Regions from separate parts of the Homo sapiens genome. Here region 1 is linked to region 2. Evidence: promoter capture Hi-C in 16 types of primary human blood cells and fetal thymus (Javierre and others, 2016). All regions are on one chromosome and are shown on one strand. The core of a region is centred on a gene start or on the middle of the fragment in contact, and the rest is flanking DNA. Distances in the headings are between cores, read along the strand shown. Region 1 has its middle 33 kb from the start of TMSB4Y. Region 2 holds the start of UTY (ubiquitously transcribed tetratricopeptide repeat containing, Y-linked).

The links. The method cuts DNA at HindIII sites, captures the fragments that hold promoters and counts their contacts. A CHiCAGO score of 5 or more calls a contact.
Region 1: a fragment that was not itself captured here is called in contact with the fragment with the promoter of UTY in region 2 in 2 of 17 cell types (M2 macrophages and megakaryocytes); the score reaches 8.7 in M2 macrophages.

Annotation. Positions count from the first base shown.
Region 1 is chrY:13,734,396-13,739,998 of GRCh38, forward strand. No RefSeq gene overlaps it. Among named protein-coding and RNA genes, the nearest start is that of TMSB4Y, 33 kb to the left of the region's middle. The HindIII fragment of the contact is 1,703 bases long and covers 1,517-3,219 here.
Region 2 is chrY:13,475,975-13,481,654 of GRCh38, forward strand. It overlaps UTY (ubiquitously transcribed tetratricopeptide repeat containing, Y-linked), which reads right to left and starts at 4,059. Exons shown (of 30, transcript NM_001258249.2): 1 at 3,540-4,059; 2 at 3,280-3,343. The coding sequence starts at 3,691. MIR12120 (microRNA 12120) reads left to right here and starts at 3,203; the gene lies at 3,203-3,292. The HindIII fragment of the contact is 7,265 bases long and covers 2,552-5,680 here.

The sequences.
Region 1 (5,603 bases), core at 1,118-3,617, 260 kb after region 2:
GCATCTGCTGTTCTATCATCGTACATTTTATTGGTTAAGGTTCTTGCTAACATGAGCTGTGCTGCTGTAAAGTTGGTTTGTCAAGACTTTGATAATACATATGCAGTAGCTTTAGCTGCGTTCCACCAGGAGTGAAAATGAGGAATCATCATCTATGTGGGTGGTCGTTTTTTTGAAGGTGGCATCTGACTCTCTTCCAGAGTCATTGCATTAATTGATACTTGCACCAGCAAAGTATCAAAGATGCTTTGAAGCCAGGTGCAGCAGTTCATGCCTGTAGTACCAGCTCATTGGAAGGCTAAGAGGGGAGGATTGCCTGAATCCAGGAGTTTGAAATCAGCTTGGGGAATAGTGATACCCCATCTCTAATTTTTTTTTTAATAAAAGATATTATGGAGCCATAAGAAGTTAACATGACCATGTAAGAATAAAAGAGGCTGCATACCGAAGAGTGTTGAGTATTTCCAGTCCCAGGCAATGAATCTGTTGAGCACCTATCAGAAAAAGCCATTGTCCATAAGAAGTAGAAATGGAGATGGACATGTGAACAAAGACTTGATAAGGTGTGACGAACATAATAAAAATGAACACCATGAAGAAAACACTCAGCAGTGTTAGAATGTTAACACTCACGAGAGAGAACAACATCCACCGCTGGAACACTCATGGGGTGACAATGTGAAAGCACCAGCTGTTTAGTTCTGCTGAAGCATGGTTGACACTGGTGGGTCTGGAAAGAGATGAACTTCGCTGGGGGAAAACATAAAGAGAATCTTACTGCATGATAAACAACTGTCACATCAGCAGGGGGGCTCTAGCCATGATTTTTAAAGTAGGCAACAATAATAGTAGATTCTAATTTTAGAAAGAAGGTTGTGAAGGCATCTGGATGATTGAGAAGGCAGGTTTCAGACCAGAGGCAAAGACATAAGAGCTAATACTTTCGTTGGTGTTCACCGATATTAACTCAGTGATTACTTATGACAACACCATGAAGTTGGTATGTTTTTCCCATTTTGCAGTTGAGAACAATGAGCTAACATAAATAATATCCCCAAATCCACACTTCTAAAACCTTCCACAGGGTCTACCTGGTGTTCAGATCCAGGCAGTCTTTTTCAGGCTCTACATTTTCAGCAGCTTTTATTTAACTGATTGTCTTGGGTACTTGCAATATTCCAGGCATGATTCCTGCACTGGGTGATGGGGGCAGGATTGTGCATGTGTCTCGCCCTATGGAAAAGCCCAACAGGGAGATGGTCTTACGTAGCAAAAGCTCAGGGCAGAGGTGGTTGAGACACATGCAAATCTTAGAGCTCTGCAGAGCAACTAGGGAAAGGCCCCAAGAACCACTTGTAGACACCGCCTCTTTGTATAGCTGCTGCCCCCATCACCCAGTGCAGGAATCATGCCTGGCATATTGCAAAGTACCCAAGACAATCAGTTAAATAAAAGCTGCTGAAAACATAGAGCCTGCAAAAGACTGCCTGGATCTGAACCAAATAGACCCTGTGGAAGCTTTTAGAAGTGTGGATTTGGGGATATTATTTATGTTAGCTCATTGTATAGCTGCTTGACACAAAGCAGTCTTCATCTCTGGGAAGGAAACTGAGGATCTGTGGTGGGCCCTGGTCAAAAATAAATGACCCACACCTGGCCAGAGCTCCTCACCCAAGTGGACACCAGGCCAGGGCTGGGCAAATGAGATTCTGGTTTTTACAGCATAGAGAGGAGAAGTCAGAGCCCCAGTACTGACTGGGCTCTGTAAAGTAGAGCAAGAGCATCCCCAATTCCTGCTGCATGGGCTTCTTTCCCATGCAAAGCCTCCTTGTCCAACTTGCCCTTTGATTCTATCACCTGGAACAGAATTATTTCAAGAACGGTGACGAATCCAGAAGGATGCAAAAAGAGGCTCCAGGGAAAAAAACTGGCGAAGAGACATGGGAAATCTAGGCATATGTGCTGTTTAGGAACAGGAGTTTCAAAGGAAGGGGTCTTGGGAATAAGTCAGTCCCATAAGCTCAACAAGGTAAGAGCAAAACAGTTGGGGAGATTTTGTATCCTCAGCAAGAAGTAATTCCCTGGTCTGCTGAGTGGCTTGAAGTACAATTAGTGGGAAAATTTCTGGTTCAAGATGATGGAAAATACCCCTGTTCTACTTTGAAAAAATGAACTACAATAACGAGGAAAGGAAATAACTGTCCGTCTAGAATTCTCTTCTAAAAAGAGTATTCTCCAAAAATAAAAATGAAAAAAAAGACATTCCAATATATCCCCTCAAGAAATCTGAGAAAATACATTTCCTATAGAACCATATTAATATATCTATTATCTATCTGTCTATGTATCTATCTAATCTATCTGTAATTACATATAATTACAGATAGATTATATTAAATATATGTAATTATATATGTAAGTTCTTCCTTAAAATTAATCTTAAATATAATTACATATATTTAAGTTCTTCCAGAAGGAATGATCCCAGATGGAAACATGGAAATGTAAGAAAGAAGAAGCAATGGAAGGGATAAATAAATATAAAAACAAATCATAATGAATATTGATTATAATGTTTGTGAAAACATAATTTTTGTGAAATTTGAATTACATAATGAGAATCAAAATGTACAAATTAACAAAGAAAAAATAGAGTTTACAAACAGTCCCTGTAATTATGGAAATTTTATATATATATATATATATATATATACACAAAAAAATTATATACACATATCTAAATATCTCTCTCTCTATCTATCTATTTATCTAGTATCTTATAATCCTTAATCTCTGTGTAGGTAGTTATGACAGTCATAATTTTAAAGTTTTGCAGACCAGAGTAAAAAGTCCTTTGATATTAAATAAAAAATGAACAAGTGCACCTAATTCTCTGAAAATACAAAAAGGCTTAGATTGCTTTTCATTTCTTTTTTTGTGCATAATGGCAAGAAGCAGTAATTCACTTGGCAATATTCTACTAATATGAGTGAGCTGACAGTTCTCCAATCATGCCACTGGTCTTCACTGGGTTCCTCTGTATAATAACTCAGGAACATCACTGCCTGTATGAACGCTCTCAGCTGAACCAACTGAACCTCCCCTATGTGTGAAAAGCATTACAAACATTGAGACGTTGGAAATAAGTTTCTCAGGAAAAAATACCACCTGACTGCTCGACAATTCAGAATGATAATTATTTGCAGGAGGAGAAAAAGAAGCTTGTTTAATACATATCCATACCTCTCCTTCAGTCTCTTTTTGAGCACAGAAGTTGTTACCATATTGCTAGGTAACTGAGCTATCTCAGGCAATGTCCAGAAAGACCAGGGAGAAACACTCCCACTAGGAATCCCCACTTAAACGTTAGGCAAATCCCATTAACCATTTTTTTTCTTTTCTGTTTTCTCATTTTTCAGAAAACAGGGTCTCGCTGTGTCACACAGCATGGAGTGCAGTGGTGCGATCATAGCTCACTGCAGCCTCTATCTCCAGGCTCAGGTGATCTTGCTTCAGGCTCTCTGGGACTAGAGGCGTGTACCGCTTTGCCTTACTTTTTCTTTTCTGGAGCGGGTAGGGGGAGATACGAGGTCTTGTTATGTTGCCCAGGCTCCATTTACCATGTTTGATATCCAAATGTTGTCCATCTGTGTCCCAGCGAAACACAGATTACTAAGAAAAAAGGCAAACTGAACTCCTGGCTTTGGCACTCCCTGGAACTCAAAGTCAACTTTGATGTGCTACATAGTGCCTGAGGAGGGCTGGGCATTCAGAGGCCCAGAAACAATGAGAAGAGGCCGGAAGGGAGTCAGCTTTGCTTTCAGACTCTCAAACACCCAAAATTCAATCTTAGAATAGAATATTCTTCAGCTGGTTCACACTAGCCACTATAGAAAATCCTGGAAGTAGGGCTCACACCTGTAATCCCAGCACTCTGGGCGGCCAGGGAGGGCAGATAAACTGAGATCAGGAGTTCAAGACCAGCCGGGCCAACATAGTGAAACCCCTGTCTCTACAAAAATTATCCGGGGTATGGTGGCACAGGCATATAATCCCAGCTGCAAAAAAAAGTGGTTCCAAACAGAGGCTTCCATAGACGTAACTCACAGACAGTCTACCTTTGTCAGTTAATTTTGCAGGGAATAGTTGGAAAGTTTTTAAAAGCTAGGGAAACAATTATTCGAAACTGCTATACTAATTTCCCTAATTTAGGTCAGTGTGACTGTAGAGATGCAGGAATGGCTTGCAATATTTAAATCCACACTAGATGTAATCTAGTAGGTGCTAAGTGCGATTGTGGCATGACTACCCCAGTGAGAAATATGCCGTAGAGTGGGCAGCTTTGTCCTAAAATTAGGTTATTGTCACACACGGAGGGTTCTGTGCTTTCCTTCCCGTTTCATTTAAATGGCCAGCGTGTGGCGCTGTCTCCCGTTAAAAATCTGCTTTTGTAATTTCCAGAGGCTTCTCCCCAAACACCTTGGTATTTATATGCCTCCGTGTAAATTTTGATAGGCTTGAAAACATCAGAGAAACTGAAGACTTTTTTTGTTTTGTTTTGTTTTGTTTTGTTTTTTGAGACGGAGTCTCAGTCTGTTGCCCAGGCTGGAGTGCAGTGGCGCGATCTCCCACTGCAACCTCCGCCTTCCGGGTTTAAGCAATTCCCCTGCTTCAGCCTCCGGAGTAGCTGAGACTATAGGCCCCCCACCACCATGCCAGCTAATTTCTGTACTTTAAGTAGAGACGGGGCTTTACCATGTTGGCCAGGCTGGTCTCCAACTCCTGACCTCGTGATTCGCCCGCCTCCCAAAGCGTTGGGATTACAGGTATGAGCCACTGCGACTGGCTGACTTTTAACAGAATAGAGTTTCAGTAACTCTGAAGAGCACCTGTAGATTTATCTTCATATTTAAACATGAAATTCAGAATAAATGCGATTACTTATTTGAACTTTGTTTAAAAAACTGCCTCAAAAAAGTCTCACTTTACAAAATGATAAGTACAAATTTTACTGAAAAGTATATTACGCATGTCACATGAAAAGTAGGACACTCAAAAGTTAGAAATGTCATTTTTAATTAAAAGTTACATTATTTAAGACTTCATTAAACTTTTGCTTCTATTAATTGTTTTATGCTTCTCCAAATATTTGTTTAGGGACAAGCCAGTAACATTTTTGTCATGTCAAGAGCCAGAAGTACAATGGTTACTGTTTATATTTTTAAGTGGCCTCTCATATTTGACTTTAAGTGTTCCCACCTATTTGTATGTTTTTCACTGTCTATGGCTTATATGTAGAATTTGACATGAGAGCCCTAAGTATTTATGGTTGCTTATAGTAGCATTGGTAACATTAGAAGTAGGGTAAAATTAGTTAACTGTCTTGTCACTGGGGCAAGTATTCAGTTTTACTGGCATCAGGCAGCCTGTGAAACCACTGGGTTTCAAAAACCCACCCTCCTTGCTGGGTGCAGCATCTGTTCTGCTGTGTAAGACACCAGAATCAACAGAGGCCATCATATGTGCTGGAGAGACAGATTCACGGTAGGGTTTTGAGAGGGAAATCACACCCACAGCCAAACATCACCATAGCCATCACCAGA
Region 2 (5,680 bases), core at 2,809-5,308:
GTGAGACCGCACTATTCCACTCCAGCCAGGGCAACAAGAGTGAAACTCCATCTCGGGGGAAAAAAAAGTAAAGTAAACCAATACCAGAAAAGTGCCCATTTATTATCACATAGTTTGGAACTGTGCCTAGATATCAAAATATTTTCTATAATTGCTTCAGATATGTATGTCCAACGTTGTACCCAAATTTTCTATTAGCATTCTTACATAATGCCTACTTAATACTTTGTCCAGTAATACGTAAACAATAACAACTCTAATTGTTTGGAAGACAACATCCAAACTGTTCCTGATACACCAAATTAAAGACCTAATTCTAAATAACAAAACATGACATTATTTCTATAGTTGCTTTTTTAACTCAAAACACTATTTTTACAACTGGAAATGAAGTTCTACAGGTTACAGGTTAGCAAACAAAACGCATATAACGCAAGATCTTAAATATCACCTTTCAAATATTACAGTATAAAAAACCACTCAAAGCATTTTAATAGGCGTTTCTCCTGTTAATGCCTCTAGCATTATATTGAAGGCATACTGTAATAGTAATATTCTATTTGACAGAGTGAAACTCTATCATAATACAAACAAAATCAACCTAAAACGTTTTCCAACATGAAATAAAAGTTACTATTGCTAAAATCTGTTTTTCACTTAATTGAACTGCGTATTATTTAAATACGAGCAAGTTATTAAGCTTCAACCAAAAAGTTTTTGCTGAAAAGTATTTACACTAATTCAGATGACAATCTTATAAAAATTAATAAAAATCTTATAAAACATAAGTTACAGAATTTTAAGGAAATCTATTGTTACAACCATCCTAATGGTTTGATATGCGGGTTCACGTATGAGGTCAAAAAAAAAAAAAATCAGAGAAACTAGTCGTTGGGATAGAGCATCCTCAATGTCCAGAAAACTTGACAGGGAAAAAAGCATATTTATAACAATATTTTAAACCTTTAGAAGCTTGTAAAACAATACTGACATTAGTAAAATCTATAAATAAAACTTTCATAGAAAACATAAATACGAATAAAAACTGAAATATCAGTGAAATAGATCATTCTAAGAACTTTTTTAAAAAACAGTGATATATGCAAAGCTCTGTGAGAAAGGGAAAAAATACTTTATTATACATACTGTAGAATAATTTGTCTTGGAGAACAGGTACTATGGTTTGAATATGTCCCCCAAAGTTCATGCATTGAAAACATAATCCTCAATGCAACAGTGTTGTGAAATGATGTCTTTAAGATTTGACAACATCATAAGCAGGCTGCTCTCATGGATGGGTTAATGTCATAGTGAGGATAGGTTCATTACAGAGAGTTAGGCATCCCCCATCTCTTGCACTGTGATATACTTTCTTGCCCTTCCACCTTCTCCAAAGAATGATGCAGCACTAAAGCCCTCATGAAACGCAGCCCCTTGATCCTGGACTTCCCAGCCTTCAGAATCCTGAGCCAAATGAAGTGAAATTGAGTTAATATTTTTTTCATTTCAAAAAAGTCACTGCAGTTTAATATACGGCATTACTCAGTGTTTTATGAAGCTACAGTTCTCCCCAAACATAATGAAACCACTTTCTCATATTTAAAATGTTACTGTAATCAAAATTGGAAAGGATCAATATGTGAAAAAAAAATTCCTTAAAATTTAAACCCCATATTGTCTATCTGAAAAGTTCATTCCAAACTAAAATGTTAACCACAACCCACTGAGAATTTATCCTAACTCCAGCATATGAAGATTTAAAGTTCTCAACCAGTATTTTCCCACATTATCCCAGAAAACATCAAATTACTTTTATTTCATTATCATAACTATTTTAAACATTAAGGCAGATCGAGTCACTGTTGCTTAAATCGTATCATTGATACTATAACATGTTTTTCATAAAGCTATTTTCACTTGCATAATCAAAGTTTAACTCATGTTTCATTTATCAGTCAAATAAAGTGGATTTACTAACTATATATATACACATTATACATACATATATATATTACATTTTAGTTTTCTGATCAGTATTTGCCCCCAAAACAAACATACAAAGGAGATTATAGGTAAAAGAACTCAGCGTCTGTACTGAATTAAACTACAAAGTAAAACGTCTTGGTAAGTAAAATGTTCATCCTGAGAAAATAATTAGTATTTCCTTGTCAAATACAATAATAAACTGAAATTCTTAACTACTGGCTTCAGCATCTAAAAGATGGCGCGATTGTTGTACCGTTCTTATTTCACGGGACCAATTGACAACATACAAATACTTTAACAAGATTTTGGTGAGAGGGTAAAAAACGATACACACAGGAATATTCCAGGGCCAAGTTACGCAACAATTCACGTGGGAGTAACTAAACATGCTGCAATTAATAAGCACATATAGGTTTAAAAATGCTGCTGTCAATGTTGGAGATAACGCAAGAATTCTACTTTTAAATAATAATAATTTTTAATAAGCAACATGAAGCTACGTCAGCGCTCTTTACGGTCTATTCCTTGCTAAGGTTTCCGGGTTAATACCTCCACCCTCTTCCCAAGCTTCCCCCTTTATTGCTCCTCCCCCTTTTTACCCGCCATCTTGGCTGATAGGAGCAGCCATTAACTAAACGACAGTGCCAACTTTTCACACAAACAACAAATTCTTCCCACTGTGAGCATGACACCTAAGAAACAAGGTTCCTGAATGGAAAAAGCACACACATTCATGAAATCACATTTGCAGCACTGTGCATCCTAAAAAAGTCAACAAATCACTAAACTTCAGGCTAAACATACACGCATCAGTTTATAGGTCAAATATCTACTGCAAACTCTTCACCGCTGTAACTTACTTGCTACTTACACTTAGGACACCAGGGATATTTTTTTTAAAAAGGCAAAAAAATGTTTAAAATTAGACACCAAGAGCCAAATACCAAAAGGCGAGGGGAAGAAGCAGGAAGTTATGAATTTTGAAAACTGTACACATTCACTATTTGTGACGCTAAAATTCAGGAACAAAAGGCCCTAAAGTAACAGGCATGTGGTGTAGACCCGGTTTAGCCCGGTCCCAAAGCGTCCGATTTTTTTTTTCCTCAGAGTAGAAGGGAGTCTGGAGCAAGGGGCGAAGTATTCCAGAGTACGGGGACAGCAAAGGCAAGAAACACTTTTCCGACCCCTTGGCCATGGAGCAGAGCCAAAATAAATACTGGCTGGGCGGTAAGGAACGCGGGGCCTTGGTAGAGCAAAGTGCGGACCAAAGACTTTGCGTCTGGTTGCTTTTACCTTGCCTAGTAGGGTCTTCGTTCTGGCGCCATCTTCATGAAGCCTCACGAACCCGAAGAGACGGCTGTAGAGAGAGAGACACAGAGCTTGTTAATGGTCTGAGAAAGCCAGTGACTTGCTCCTTCCCGAGTCCAAGAGCGACAGCGACAGATTGGTGAGTGCCAAGCTGAGGATGACCCCGTCATCAACGTGGGCAAGCTGCGTCCAGGCCTTCCCGGAGAGTATCGCCAGCCAACCAGGCGGGTGATGGAGGTGCGTACCTGTCCATGCCACCAAGCGCCTCCCTTTCCTCGACTGTCAGGCTAACAGACTCCTCTTCACTCTCGCGGCTCGCTTTTCCTTCCGCCATTTTCTTTGCCTCATCACCGAAGGCAACAGCGGCGGTAGTGAGCGACACTGCGCAGGATTTCATGGAAACAACAAATTTCCAAGTCCCACGACGATACCCAACCTTAATCGAGTAGTTGAAAAGACGCCTTCAATCGCTGCTTGAGACTGTGACGCCAATTTTATCGCCTCCTCAGCGGCTGCAAGGAAAAAAGCTGAGGCAAAGACTTAAGCTACCGAAGCACGGGCAGCGGAACTCGGCTACCTGGATCACATCTGGGAAACTACAGGGAAGGCAGAAGCTCGCAGTGCTGGAGAGCACAGCAGAATTTCTTAAAATCACAAACTTTGCCAGCACCAGCACAAAGTTGTAATTGTGTCACGGGCGAACCCCACGCAGCCGCCGCGACCTCCCCGCTCCCAACCACTTAGTTGTAGCCAATCTAGGCGACTGATTCGTCTCACGTGATCTTTGTTGACTTACGTCAGGCATTGCTCCACTGTACTCCTAGGCTGCTGGGACCCCGCCCAGCCAGTTCGCCAAGGACCTAGGAACATGACAGAGGCTGACTGATTCTGACCGCTGGTTGGTTGATGGTCACGTCTATGGAGAAAAGGGTAGTCTCTGGGATGGAACAACCTGTAGGTTGTGCTAGTTAAATGCATTAAGATAGAAAATGGAGTGTCTGTGCTGGGTGTTTTTGCAGTTGCGATACGCTTGAAGGGGAAGAGAGCGATGGGAAGGGCGGCATCGGGCATCACCCACGGGGCGCAAATGCGAAAAGAGGACACCATGGACTTTAGGAGAGTCCGTAATGAGGCTCCCACTGTCACAAGCCTTGCGAATGCGAGACCTTGCGGGGCATGGCAGGGAAGCTGCGCAGGCCCTAAACCTTCACCCTCAAGACTTTTGGCCCTAAGGCCTTGTCACCTCCATAGGCTGGTTCTTTGCCCATTTCCTCTCCACTGACCAAGTCTAAAGAGAAGGCATAATATCTTATGACCTCAGTCGGTAAGCCAGGCCCTAGGGAATCAACGTGGCAACTGCATTTATCAGTTCATGATATTATCTAAACAACAAACGATGAGCAAAAAAAAAAAAAAAAAAAAAAGTTACTCCACAAACCCAAAATGTTTATTTCTATTGTGATAATGATAATTCCGTGAGGTCTCAGTAAGAGTAGGAGCTTCTGTGGACAGGAATTATAAGAACAATAATTAAGACCTTCATCACACTTTCAAGATGCAGTAACCCTTAGAAAAGAAAAAAACACCACTTTTTTCTTACTTTCTCAATTGTAACCAAAATTATAAATAATAGGTAAAAGAATTTATTTCTGAACCCCAAATATCTGAGAGAGGTCTTAGTCAATTTAAAAAGTTTATTTTGCAAGACTTACCCATGATACATTTGCCCAAGGTGGTCAGGGCACAGCTTGCTTTTGTACGTTTTAGGGAAACATGATTGGTTCGGTCAGGTAAGAGGGACAGCTCGAAGCGGGGGCTTCCATGTTAGAAATAGATAAGAGACAGGTCGGGCGCTGTGGTTTACGCCAGTAATCCCAGCACTTTGGGAGGCCGAGGCGGGCAGATGACCTAACGTTGGGAGTTTCAGACCAGCGTCACCAACATGGAAAAACCCCGTCTCTACTAAAAATACAAAATTAACAGAGCATGGTGGCGCATGCCTGTAATCTCAGCTACTCTGAAGACTGAGGCAGGCGAATCGCTTGAACCCAAGAGGCGGAGGTTGCGGTGAGCCGAGATGGCACCATTGCATTCCAGCCTGGGCAACAAGAGCAAAACTCCGTCTCAAAAAAAAAAAAAAAAAAAAAAATGTAGATAAGAGACAAGAGTTTGCATGCTTTTGAGTCCTTGATCAGCCTCCTACTGAATACAGAATTTAGTCCGGCTAGTAACTCTGTATTTTTACATAAATAAATAATAAGGCAGAGGAAGCAATCAGATATGCAGTTGTCTCTTGTGCGCCTCACAGGGATAACTTTGAGTTGGGTCTGTCCTTTGTCCACAAGGAATTTCCTTGTGGGCACGTTGTGAGGAACGTATGTAGCTT